Linked DNA regions of Homo sapiens: all the other regions are linked to region 1. The links are contacts of gene promoters, found by promoter capture Hi-C in blood cells and fetal thymus (Javierre and others, 2016). All regions are on one chromosome and are shown on one strand. Each heading gives the region's core, a stretch centred on a gene start or on the middle of the fragment in contact. The rest is flanking DNA. Distances are from core to core; before and after follow the strand shown. Region 1 holds the start of RPS14 (ribosomal protein S14). Region 2 overlaps TNIP1 (TNFAIP3 interacting protein 1). Region 3 has its middle 2.4 kb from the start of TNIP1. Region 4 holds the start of CCDC69 (coiled-coil domain containing 69).

The links. Contacts are between HindIII fragments. The CHiCAGO score rates a contact against its expected background, and 5 or more counts as called.
Region 2: a contact is called between a fragment that was not itself captured here and the fragment with the promoter of RPS14 in region 1, in 1 of 17 cell types (naive CD8 T cells). The highest score is 5.2, in naive CD8 T cells.
Region 3: a contact is called between a fragment that was not itself captured here and the fragment with the promoter of RPS14 in region 1, in 3 of 17 cell types (activated CD4 T cells, naive CD8 T cells and fetal thymus). The highest score is 6.2, in activated CD4 T cells.
Region 4: the fragment with the promoter of CCDC69 here is called in contact with the fragment with the promoter of RPS14 in region 1 in 10 of 17 cell types (fetal thymus, total CD4 T cells, neutrophils and 7 more); the score reaches 11.3 in fetal thymus.

The regions. Positions count from the first base shown.
Region 1 is chr5:150,448,432-150,451,397 of GRCh38, forward strand. It overlaps RPS14 (ribosomal protein S14), which reads right to left and starts at 1,308. Exons shown (of 5, transcript NM_005617.4): 1 at 1,272-1,308. RefSeq lists enhancers at 825-1,763, 1,377-1,696. The HindIII fragment of the contact is 9,558 bases long and covers 1-2,966 here.
Region 2 is chr5:151,055,615-151,058,787 of GRCh38, forward strand. It overlaps TNIP1 (TNFAIP3 interacting protein 1), which reads right to left. Exons shown (of 18, transcript NM_006058.5): 6 at 1,152-1,343. Among named protein-coding and RNA genes, the nearest start is that of TNIP1, 24 kb to the right of the region's middle. RefSeq lists an enhancer at 691-1,217. The HindIII fragment of the contact is 3,905 bases long and covers 1-3,173 here.
Region 3 is chr5:151,081,935-151,084,837 of GRCh38, forward strand. It overlaps a transcript of TNIP1 not described here. Among named protein-coding and RNA genes, the nearest start is that of TNIP1, 2.4 kb to the left of the region's middle. RefSeq lists enhancers at 1,507-1,616, 1,737-1,846. The HindIII fragment of the contact is 1,257 bases long and covers 790-2,046 here.
Region 4 is chr5:151,222,691-151,225,722 of GRCh38, forward strand. It overlaps CCDC69 (coiled-coil domain containing 69), which reads right to left and starts at 1,402. Exons shown (of 9, transcript NM_015621.3): 1 at 1,233-1,402. The coding sequence starts at 1,280. It overlaps LOC105378230 (a long non-coding RNA gene), which reads left to right. Exons shown (of 4, transcript NR_160730.1): 4 at 786-1,660. RefSeq lists enhancers at 825-934, 955-1,154 and silencers at 1,275-1,354, 2,838-3,032. The HindIII fragment of the contact is 18,522 bases long and covers 1-3,032 here.

The sequences.
Region 1 (2,966 bases), core at 58-2,557:
TGTCACAAGATCTAAGGGAGAGAGAAACTGACAGGAGGAAGGCGGGTGAGAATGAATGAGAAAGTGGAAGGCTAGGATAAGACTGCTTCCGGCCTAAAGCCCCAGGCCTTCTGAACCTCCTGGTGTTCAGAACAATTTAACATTTTCAGAAGACACTAACACTAATCGATATCCTGCAGATGGTGAAGATAGAGAGTGTCTCAGCCTATGGTCACAGTAAAGACAGTGGCAAAACCAAACATAGAAACAACGTGTCCTGACTCCCAGCCCAGCACTCTCTGCCTCCTGCCAAGATGCCTCTACACCACAAATAACTACCCTAGTCTGTCTCAGGTGTTCCTAGATCTCTCCTCTGCCTTCCCTATATAAACTTTAGTTAAGTGTGTGACCACAGTAAGTACTTCAAGTGTAAGTCTTGGGTGTACGAAGTTAAATGTTCCTATCTTCAAATCAGACCAATGAGCACGACCCAGTGCGTTAACTATTGTAAGGAACGCGCCACAGGAGAGAAGCCCAAAGTTCTGCCTCGAGAAGCATAGAAAGGCTCCAGCATATCTCAAATACGTAAGCATGAGTATGTTTCGGCATGATGGCCATTCAGTAAATGCCAATTTGCAGTTTCTCCGTTCCTAACATCCCCTAAAGTAACGAGCAGAGTGGTCATCAGGAGTATATAAACGCAGGGCAAGCGCACAGCAAACATTGGTGCTGGGCCCTGAGCGCCCAGAACTTGCAACGTGCCCGACTCAGCAACGGAAAGAATCGCCCAGATTTAGAAGCATCCAACATAGTGCGAGAGTTTTCCCTGCTTTCCTTCTTTGAATGATCACTACAAACCCATGGGATCGGTGCTATTGTTATTCCTATTTTGCAAACGAGGAAACAAACGAGATTAGGCGTGGGCCTGCGATCACCAAGAAAAAAGTTTGGCGAGGTAGAGGCGGGAGCCCACGTCTGTCCCGGGTTCCCTCAACTACGCTGTGCAGCTCAAACGCGGCCGTGGCCGTGGCCGTATTGCGGGGCCGAGGCCTTAAAAGGCTGGACCCGCACTCACCCTTACTTCACAAGCTCCTCCCTGAAAGCAAAACGGGCCTTCTGAGACCAGGAACGAACTCAATCCCGAGTTGGCCAGGATCCAGGTGGGCCAGCCGCGCGTCTCTTGCCCGGCACCTAGCTCGGTTCCCACGGAAAGACCCCCGTCTCTCGTCCCAAGCCCCACAGGGTCCCCTCGCCGCAGGATGCCCCCCGATTGTCGCGCCCGGGCCTCCTACCTGCACGTCGTCTCCAGACTCCACACCGGAAAGAGAGAGTGGGAGGGGGCGGAGCGACGGGGGTCACTTCCGTGTCCCGGAAGTATACCTCTGAGGTCACGGGGCGAGGTCGGGTTCCGGAAGACGCCGGCATTATTCCTCCCAAAGAGTTTAAGACTCGTCATAAGGAAAGACGGTTTATTACTTAAGGGAGAGCGAAAAGAGGTAGAGGGCTGGTTGTCGCTGCGAGCGGGTCGGCCTAAGCGACAGTACGAAGCGGCTACACCCGCGGGGTGAGGTGGGCCTGTATTCCATGATGGCGGTGGTCGTGGCTAGACAGACTTCCGCCATCCTGACTCCCGCCCTGGCAGCCTTGGAGCGGCAGCGCCCCTTGTGTGGAGCAGGGGAATAACAACAACAAAACGGCCTTAATTAAAGCTAGGGTGGCGCCGGCCTGTGGTCCCAGTTACTCAGGAGGCTGAGGATCGCTTCGTCCAAGTAGTTCGAGGCCAGCCTAGGCAACATAGTCGGGGAAAACACACCGTAATCACTTACTTTGGCATATTATATAATGGGCAAAATAAGAATAAATTATTCAATATGTATTTTCAGACCGGTCTGGGCTAAACAGTTTATATGCATTGCTTCATTTACTCCTCAAGACATTATCAAATAATTTTGATTTCCCTCTTACAGATAAAGGATGTTAACTGAGAGCACACCTTTGCAGAAGGGTTTGGAATTCTAGCTTCAAAGCCCTCGTGTTTAATAGCTACTTCCACATAGCCCTCTAATAACAATATACATGTATATATTTCGACCGAATCTTGTTCTGTAGCCAAGGCTGGAGTGCAGTGGCGCAATCTCGGCTGACCGCAACCTCTGCCTCCCAGGTTCAAGCTATTCTGCCTCAGCCTCCCAAGTAGCTGGGACTACAGGCGCGTGCCACCACGCCCGACAAATTTTTTGTGTGTGTGTATTAGTAGAGACGGGGTTTTACCGTGTTGACTAGGGTGGTCTGGATTTTCTGACCTCGTGATCCACCTGCCTCGGCCTCCCAAAGTGCTGGGATTACAGGCGTGAGCCACCGTGCCCAGCCTCTAATAACAATATTGAAGGACCTTGAAGGCTTGGGAGAATATGTCGGAGCTGTGGGGAAGGGCCAAGAAGTGTACCTCACAGAGCTAGGCAAGCGGTAGATACATTTTATCTATGTACTATATGTAATATTTATATGGAATATATATAGTATTTTTGTATTACATACTATATAAATATTATAAATATATTTTAAATATATAAATATATCCCGTGGCTCCAGCCTGGGTGACACAGCGAGACCCTGTCTCAAAAAAAAAAAAAATTTATTCTGCTAAACTGAAAAACTCAACATACCTTCTTTTTTTTTTTGAGACGGAGTCTGGCTCTTGTTGCCCAGGCTGGAGTGCAGTGACGCCATCTTGGCTCACTGCAAGCTCCGCCTCCTGGGTTCAAGTGATTCTCCTGCCTCATCTCCCGAGTAGCTGGGATTACAGGTGTGCGCCACCACACCCGGCTAATTTTTGTATTTTTAGTAGAGACGGGGTTTCACCATGTTGTCCAGGCTGGTCTCGAACTCCTGCCTCAGGTGATCCACCCGCCTCGGTCTCCCAAAGGGCTGGCATTATAGGCGTGAGCCAATGCACCCAGCCTCAACATACCTTCTCGTTGCATTGC
Region 2 (3,173 bases), core at 290-2,789, 610 kb after region 1:
TGCTCCTCTACCCCCACACCTCTCCTCATACTGCATCTCCAACCTGATTGCCCTTCATGCCCTCGGCAACCAAGGTCACGCAAGGGGGACTCCCCCTTCTGCCATCAGCGGGGCACTTGAGTGCCTGCTGACATGAATGAGACCACAGATCAGAGAATGGCCTGGGAGGAGAGTCTGCAGGGAGTAAGGAGGCTTCAAGTCATGGCTCTGTCACTAAGGTGGCGGGCACTCAGATCACGAGCAGTCCCTCAGAAGCCTCCGTTTTGCCATCTTTAGAATGGTCACCAATTATAACTGAACACTTCCCCGCTGCTAAAGCCCACAAGGCTAAGACCCCCTGCCCAGTGTGGATGCCCGTCATGAACTCCGAATGGGGACCTCTCTTCCAGCATGGACTAGGTTCTGGACTGCACTGGGTGCTTCATGTACATGGCCTCATTTAATGCAGCAATCTAACCATGGAGGCACTTCTAGCTCATGTTACTGATAGGAACATTGGGGGATAGAGAGGATAAGTGACTTGTCCAAGGTCATACAGCAATAAAGGGTCACTACTGGAACCAAGGACCATATAACTCCAAGGTCTGGCCTGGCCTAGCAAGGAAATCTGTCCATTCCCCACAGCACAGGGAGGCTTTCAAAAGGAATTCAATAGGGGAGGCAGGTTGGGATGGTGGTCAAGAGTATGGGCTTTGGAATGCGAGAGATCGAGGTTCCAATCCCTACTTCACCATTTACCAGCTGGGTGACCTTGGGCAAAAAAAGGGCTGCTTCCCCACCTGTGAAGTGGTGATAATGAGGGTGCCTACCCTGGGGGGAAAGAGGCATTATGAAAGGAGTTGACCTTTGTTCCCTCCCTTCCCATCCCCCAACCCTGCACATGAGAAATAAAGGCAGGGCTGCTGGGGGTATCCCCAACCATGACACTCGCATTGCCCATCCCGTATTTCCCCATTTCCTTCCTCTTCCTCATCCCTCCCCACAACTTCCTTATCCTGTTCATCACCCTGAACAAAAAGCCCGAAGTCTGCCCACAACACAGCCTTCAGAAGTCCCCATGGTACCAGTGGATTCCCAGGAGCAGGAAGGTGGGAAGAGCTCGGGGGGAAGCACGCCTGCCTGTCTCGGGCTGCCCTCCCCACGCGCCTCACCTGCAGAATGGAGGTGCGCTGCTCATTCTTGTGCACCTTGGATGCCAGTCGGTTGAACTCCAGGGCCATGCGGCCCAGGTGGGTGAAGAGCTGGCCGTGGTCCGGCTCCTCGGCACACACACTCAGCGTGGTCTCCAGGCGCTGCAGGTGCAGCATCAGGTTGCCGTCCTCACGGGGCAGGGGGCCCAGCGCCTGGAGAGGGAAAGGGCACACGGCCCACTCTTCACCAAGGCCTGAGTAGGCGCCGCCAGTCCATTCTCCCTCTGCTTCCTCATTTCTCATGACTCAGTTTCCCCCTGTGACCCCAGCTCAGCCCCGGGAAATTCTCCAGTTATGCAGGTTCCCTGTCTGGGGCTGACTCACAGGGCAGAACCCAGGACTCACAGGCCACTGGTGGCTCCACAGCAGCGGGGCCACCATCCTCCCACACACTGGGCCTTGCAGAGTGCCTGACAGTAAGTCACTTGTCTGCTGGACCTCAGCATCCTCATCTACCAAATGTCCGCACAACCCTTCCCTCCCTTCAACCTCACAGGGTTCTTAGGAGGATGAATTGACCCCTGACAGTAACAAGCCCAGAAAAGGGACATCACTGCACAGTCAGCCCTCCATATCCATGGGTTCCGCATCCATGGATTCAACCAACTGCAGATCAAAAATCTTCTAAAAAAACAAACTGGCCGGGCGCGATGGCTCACGCCTGTAATCCCACCACTTTGGGAGGCTGAGCGGGCAGATCACAAGGTCAGGAGATCAAGACGGCCTGAGTGGTGAAACCCTGTCTCTACTAAAAATACAAAAATTAGCTGGGCATGGTGGCACGTGCCTGTAATCCCAGCTACTTGGGAGGCTGAGGCAGGAGAACTATTTGAACCAGGGAGTCGGAGGTTGCAGTGAGCAGAGATCGCACCACAGCACTCCAGCCTGGGCAACAGAGCAAGATTCCGTCCCAAAACAAACAAACAAAAAACTGTATTGAACATGTACAGAATTTTTTTCTTGTCATTATTCCCTAAACAATACAGTATACCAAAATTTAGCATTTACATTGTATTAGGTATCGTAAGTAATCTAGAGATGATTTAAAGTATATAGGAGGATGTGTATAGGTTATAGGGAACTACTACGCCATTTTACATCAGGGACTTGAGCATCCATGGATTTTGGGTATCCTCAGGGAGTTCTGGAACCACTCTCCCATGTTTACCAAGGGACATCTGCATATACGTCCTGCAACCTCCGCCTCCTGGGTTCAAGCGATTCTCCTGCCTCAGGCTCCTGAGGAGCTGGGATTACAGGTGTGCACCACTACACCAAGCTAATTTTTGTATTTTTAGTTGAGACGGGGTTTCACCACAATGGCCAGGCTGGTCTTGAACTCCTGACCTCAGGTGATCCACCCACCTCGGCCTCCCAAAGTACTGAGATTACAGGCGTAAGCCACCATGCCTGGCCTACACATGTGTCTTCTGGGGAATGGCCCAAGCATTCATCAGCTTCTGAGGACCCAAGACTCAAAACAGTTTAAGGAACCACAGCTTTAGCTATTTCAGAAAGTCCCAAACTAGTACAGTATGTAAGAAATAAAGCACACCGTGGGCCAGATAGTTGACTCTTTCTCTCTAGTCTATCTGGAATACTCCTACCAAAGACATTGCCTTTGTTACACCAATTCCACTCCCAAGGACCTGCAGTGTTACCCTACTGCAGACGGCACTGGGCCCAGCTCCCCTGCTGGGCATCTAAGGCCCTACAGCCGCAGGTCCCATCCACAGCAGCATCCAGTTGGGCTCCCCACTTTACCCTGCCTGAACCCACACACACCAGGTCTGGTGTCTCTGCATGTGTCCTCTCTGTGTCCTCTCTGCCTCTGCAAGTTCTGCTCATCCTTCCCACCCTGTCCACGGCTCAGCTCCTCCAGCAGCCTCCCGGAAACAGTTATGGGAATCACAGGACAGCAGAGCTACAGGGAGCCTCAGAGATCAGGCCGGGAAACCAAGCTATGGGGAGGAGGAACTTGCC
Region 3 (2,903 bases), core at 168-2,667, 630 kb after region 1:
CAAAAAGTGGAAGGTCTAACCTTGGAATAAAGAACAGCTCTTTAAACTAAATATAGCTTTATGAAAAACCTATTGCAAAAGACCCATTTCACTGGTACTGTTGAAAACTTAGTCATTGACAGGCCCTCATCCTCAAAAAGAATTAGGGGAAAGGATTTGGGGAACTGTTTAATACACACCCTCATTTTACAGAAGAGAGACCCATCAATCAACTGTGACTTCGCAATAATACACACACAGATACTTGCCCAAATTATATACCTAATCTGGGGATTCTCCTATAAGGCTTTGTAACCTCCTAGGGTTCCTTCAGTTAATTCAACGGTGTTATCAGATCTTCAAAACGATATTCATTCTAGTTTAATTATGAAAAGAATTACACTTATGCCTTGATTCAGAAGGGAGGGAGGGAGGAAGCGATGCAAACTCCAAAGCACCACTGAGTCTCACCACTGGGGGATCCTACAGAGAAACTGGGAATCCTGGCCCTGGTTTACATAGCAGCTCCCAGGCATCGTCTCCACCCATCAGGTCCGCACCTGCCAGTTTTCTTCCTGCTCTTTGTGCCTGTACTTCCCAATTCTCTTCCTGCAGGGCTCTCTTCCTATTCCCAACCCACATCTTCTCCACCCCCACCCTCTACCCACTGAAAACTAAAATCTACCTAAAAATGGCTGGTCTCTAATTACTTGCATTTTGTTTCCACACTATTTCAGCTGTTTTTATAGCATGTCTGGCCTTAGCCGGGCAGACAGTTTCATTTCTCAAAGTGTCCGCTGGGAATTCTCAAGCTTGACATAAAAAAATGGCACTCAGTCATCTTTTTGTCTGATTTCCTAGTTCTGGATCCTTTTTCTTAACAGTTCCAATTTGTGAGAAAACTCATTTATTTATAAAGTCGTGACTGCCCCCACCTCTTCCATTCTTTGAAGTCTTGGTTTGTCTTCAGGACATTCCACCCTGTTAGAGACCATGGAGCCCATAGATAACAAACCCCTATTTGACAGATAGGTAAACTGAGTCCTCTGTCTAGAAAAGGACTTACTCTAGGCCACACACATTGAGTGACACAACCAGGGCCTTGGAATCCAGGGCCTTGGCTCCCAGTCCTGTGTGCTTGGTCCACTGTACCAAGTTGTCTTTACAATGACATGATTTTTCTCACTGCCTTGCAGAAAACACCACTGTCATAAACACAGGCTATGAATTGAGCTAATGGGATTCCAATCCCTGCTCAGCCACTTACTACCTGGGTGGCCCCTCTAAGCCTCAGGCTTCTGTCTGGAAAATGGGGGATAATATACCTATTCCTCATGTGAATCATGAGGATAAATTGGACAATGCAAATAAAGCCCAAGGCTCAGCACACAGTAGGCATTCAAGAAATGATAGTGGTGTCTAGATGTGGGCTGCATGCATTGGGTAGAACTTGGCTCTTAAACTCAGCAATGCAACCTCACCAGGCGCCATCCCACCATACACATCCTCTGTGAGACCCTAGCCTCTAGGAGCATGGCAGGAATGGGAGACAGGCCCCCTAGCCTGGCACTGCCTGCTACCCTGTGGTCTGGAAGGGGATTTCCAAGTCAAGAAGCTGGGCCTGACGCTGGGAGCTGAGTGACTCAGGCAGGTGCAACCTCTTGTTCTTCCAGAGTAATGACAAGCACTCGCACAAAGCCACACCCAGAAGGAGAATCAAACTGCCTTTGTTTTGTTTTGTTTTATTTGGTTTTGTTTTAAAGCACGCAACTTCTCGATCTCCTTTCTGCTACTCCCTCCTCCACCACCCCTACTGAGGTAGCTACAGAGTCAGACCCAAATACACATTTGAAGGTAATAAAAAACATATGAAAAATCCATCTATAACCAACTTAACTCTAGAGCAAGTTCCAGAAGAGGGGTGGAGGCTGCATAATAAAAGCATTAAAAGGTAACATGTATGGAGTATTTGCTGTGTGCTATCTCCGCGCTTTTATTCATAATTTGCCTCCCAACCAGCTTATGAGGTCGGCACCATTATCATCCACATTTCACAGATGAAACTGAAGCTTTGAGGTATTAGATGACTTGCCCAAGGTCTTACAGCACAGCAAGTAACCGGAGCTTGAAGATCCAGGCTCTTAAACGCTTAACACTCTTAAGCATCATGCTCCAAAGTCTTGCCAGCTAGCAAGACATAGAACTCAGAGTGCCAGGCTTGAAGGGTCTTTAGAAATGATCAACCCAGGCAGGGCATGCCGTGGCTCACGCCTGTAATCCCAACACTCTGGGAGGCTGAGGCGGGTGGATCACCTGAGGTCAGGAGTTCAAGACCAGCCTGGCCAACATGGTGAAACCCCGTCTCTACTAAAAATACAAATATTAGCCAGGTGTGGTGGTGGGCGCCTGTAATCCCAGCTACTCAGGAGGCTGAGGCAGGAGAATCACTTGAACCCAGGAGGTGGAGGTTGCAATGAGCCAAGATCGCGCCATTGCACTCCAGCCTGGGGACAAGAGCAAGACTTCGTCTCAAAAAAAAAAAAAAAGAAAGAAAGAAATGATCAACCCAGTCTTTTCATTGTAGGGCTGGAGCCACACCAAGGGCCAGAGAGCGGCAGGGACTTGCGGGAGGTCTTACGTTGAGTTTGTGATTCATACATAGGACAGAACCCAAGTATCCTTCTCCCAGCACAGTGCTGTTTCCACATACCCCACTGATAGGAAATGGAGCATCTAAATCAAACAAGAACATTCCTCATTGCATTAGGAGAATGAGTGAATCAGGGCCTTGGCTAGGGGAGAATGGAACTCGGGAGCAGCTAATGAACTAGGAAAAGAGCAGCCCTGGGTCCCTTCCTTAGATCCATAACCTGAGGCAATCTCAGGAGTGTAAGACCCTCCAGTGGATTCTAGGTACTTTTTGG
Region 4 (3,032 bases), core at 152-2,651, 770 kb after region 1:
TGTCATCCCTGTCAGCCAGCCCCTTCCTTCTACTGATAGAGCCAAGCCTCAGTTTCCCTGTTGGAGTGAGTAAAGACATGAGGGTTTCTAGGTCAGGAGTTGGTGAGAATTTCAATCTGGTAATAAAGGGAGAGCAAGGAAAGCCAGGAGGTGTCAGAGAAGGGAGTAGAATCCTCCAGGCTAGGACTACTGTTAGGCAGAAAAACCTGTACTCAGGGCACAAGCAAAGCAGGAGCAGAGGGAGGACTAAAGTTCATTGCAAAACTATTAAACACTGTCACAGTTTGGGGCCTCTCAAGGTCTCAAGGGGGAATGATGATAAAGTTTAAGGGATCACCTAGTCCCACCTGGCTAGGGGGCAGGTAGTGGTAAGAAAAGGGGCCAGAATTTGAGGGTCCTTCTTCCCCTCTGCCTCACAGTGTCCCCTGAGGAGGCTATCTTTCTAGCTCCAGGCTCTGACCTTCTGGGCTCGTCAGACCCCAAGGGGCAGCTGGTCTCACTGCAAGAAACCTGAGAATTGTCCCCTGGGCCCTGACCCAGCTCCAAGGCCCCTTGGGGGAAGGACAGGAAGGGAGGAGAGGGCCACAGAACGCAGTAGATCTCCTCCCTCTTTGGCCCCTCCCAGCTACCCCAAGGGCAGCCCACACTCACCAGCTCTGGGGCCTGCAAGAGCCCTAAGACCAGCGCCTCAAACTTTAAAGCGTCATCACCTGGGCATATTGTTAAAAGGCAGCTTCTGTCTTGGCAAGACTGGGCCTGAGCCTGAGATTCTGCATTTCTGACAGGTCCCCAGGGATGCTGATACTGCGAGTCTGTGGAACACTCTTCGAGCAGCCCTGAGATTATCAGCCTTTAACCCCCGGGGGGAGGAAGCCGAAGGCCCAGAGAGGTCAAGTCACTTGTCCATGGCCACACAGCGAACAGCCCCAGACCGAAAGCAGAGGGCACCTGCCACAGACACACGACATCTCCCCACCCGAGGCAGCGGGAATCAGCTGCCTTTCCCTGGCCCGGGTGCCGTGTTTGTAAACTCGGCTGCTTGGTGCGGCTCGGGCCGGGGTAAAGGGCGCCTCCCAGCAGAGCCTCCCTCGTCTCTGAGCTGGCCTCTCCAGGTTCTCCGTCCGGTATCCCGGGCCGACCAGAGAGAGCCCGGGGCGCCGAGTCCTCTGCGGCGGAGCGATTCCGCACTCCCCTCTCCTCTGAAAGCAAACTTCTCCGCCGGCGCCCTTTACCTTTTTCGGGGGTTTGCAGCTGCTCAGCCTGCTGTGTCTGCAGCCCATCCTCCTCCGGGGGCTCCCGGACGCCGCTTCCCAACTCCGGGGCCCCCAGAGGAGCCTGCGATCCGGGCCCCGCTGCCCGCTCCGCGCCCGCCGGCTGGGGCTGCCGGCGAGACCCTGAAACTGAACCTGGAAGCGCTGTCTTGAGCCTGAGCTGGGGCGGCCGCCCGCCGTAAATACCCGAAGAGCGGGGCCTCAGTGTAGCCCGCAGGGCCAGCGGCGCCGCCACCAGAGGCAGGTGACCAGAATCCTTCTAAATAATAGGAAGCTCTGGTCAGGGCAGAAGAAAAGAAAACCTCAAGGAGCAACAGATGCTTTTCCGAACCCTCAGCTAAGAAAGGGCCGGGGGAAAAAATAATTAAAGCAATTATTTGATAAACTAACAACTATCATTCATTGAGGGCTGTTTTTGTCCCAGTTGTTTTATACATTTTATTTCTATTTCTTGCCATATCAGTGCAACAAAGGTATTACTTCCTCCATTTTACAGGTGAGGAAAATGGTGTTCAGAGATGCAACATGATTTGCCTAAGGTCACATGGCTAGTAAGTTACCACAGCCCAGATAGAATCCAGTTCCTTTTTTTTTTTTTTTTTTGCCGCTATCATAGTTCACTGCAGCCTCAAACTCCTGGGCTCAAGCGAGCCTCCCAGCTCAGCCTCCTGAGTAGCTGGGACTACAGAGGCTCACCACCATACCCAACCAAATTCTTTTCTTTTTTCCAGTCTGATTTTGAACGACCGCCCTCAAGCGATCCTCCCACCCTGGCCTCCCAAAGCGTTGGGATTACAGGCATGAGCCACTGCACAGAATACAGTTCTAACTCCAGAACCTAAACTTTGACTCAATGGCCTACAAATAAATCATAATACTAAGTTTATTGTATTTATTTATTTTTGAGACAGAGTCTCGCTCTATTGCCCAGGCTAGAGTGCAGTGGCACGATCTTGGCTCACTGCAACCTCTGCCTCCCAGGTTCAAGTGATTCTCCTGCCTCAGCCTCCCCAGTAGCTGGGATTACAGGCATGCACCACGACACCCAACTAATTTTTGTATTTTTAGTAGAGACAGAGTTTCACCATTTTGACCAGGCTGATCTCAAACTCCCAACCTCAGGTAATCCGCCCGCTTCGGCCTCCCAAAGTCCTGGGATCCCACACCTGGCCAATAATACTAAGTTTAATTTTAATGCCTCCTCACTTCTGGGCTGATAGTTTTTTCCACCTCACAAGCATCTGTAATATTTGACTCTATCCATCTTGGATAGATGTTATTCATCACAACAACCTCTTGAGGCAGGCCAGGTATGGTGACTATGGGACATAAAATGTCAGTGTCTAGGAAAAGGAGCTTTTGTTTATCTTCTCTTTGTTATTAGCTGAGGTTTCTGAAATGGCAATGCAGGAAAAAGATAACCAATTTTGAAAATCAGTGTGTATGCCTATTTGCGTGTATATTGGAATATTAAAGTCAGGCCCAAAACTCTTGGAAAGGTGTGCTGTGAAAACGGCTTAGAGTCATGAATGGGGAAAGAATATGAGACCTCAAAAAAATTGCTCCCTCCATAGGGTACAAAACCAATTGCAAAAGTGTGTAAGAAAGGAAACTAAGGAAACGTGTTATTAGGTTCTCAAAAGCAAGTATAATAGAGAATGGTGGCTCACAAAGTGTGATTCCCAAATCAGCAGTGTCAGCACTACCAGCCGCCTTTGTTGGAAATGCAAATTCTCGGGCCCCACCCCTGGCCTAAACTCT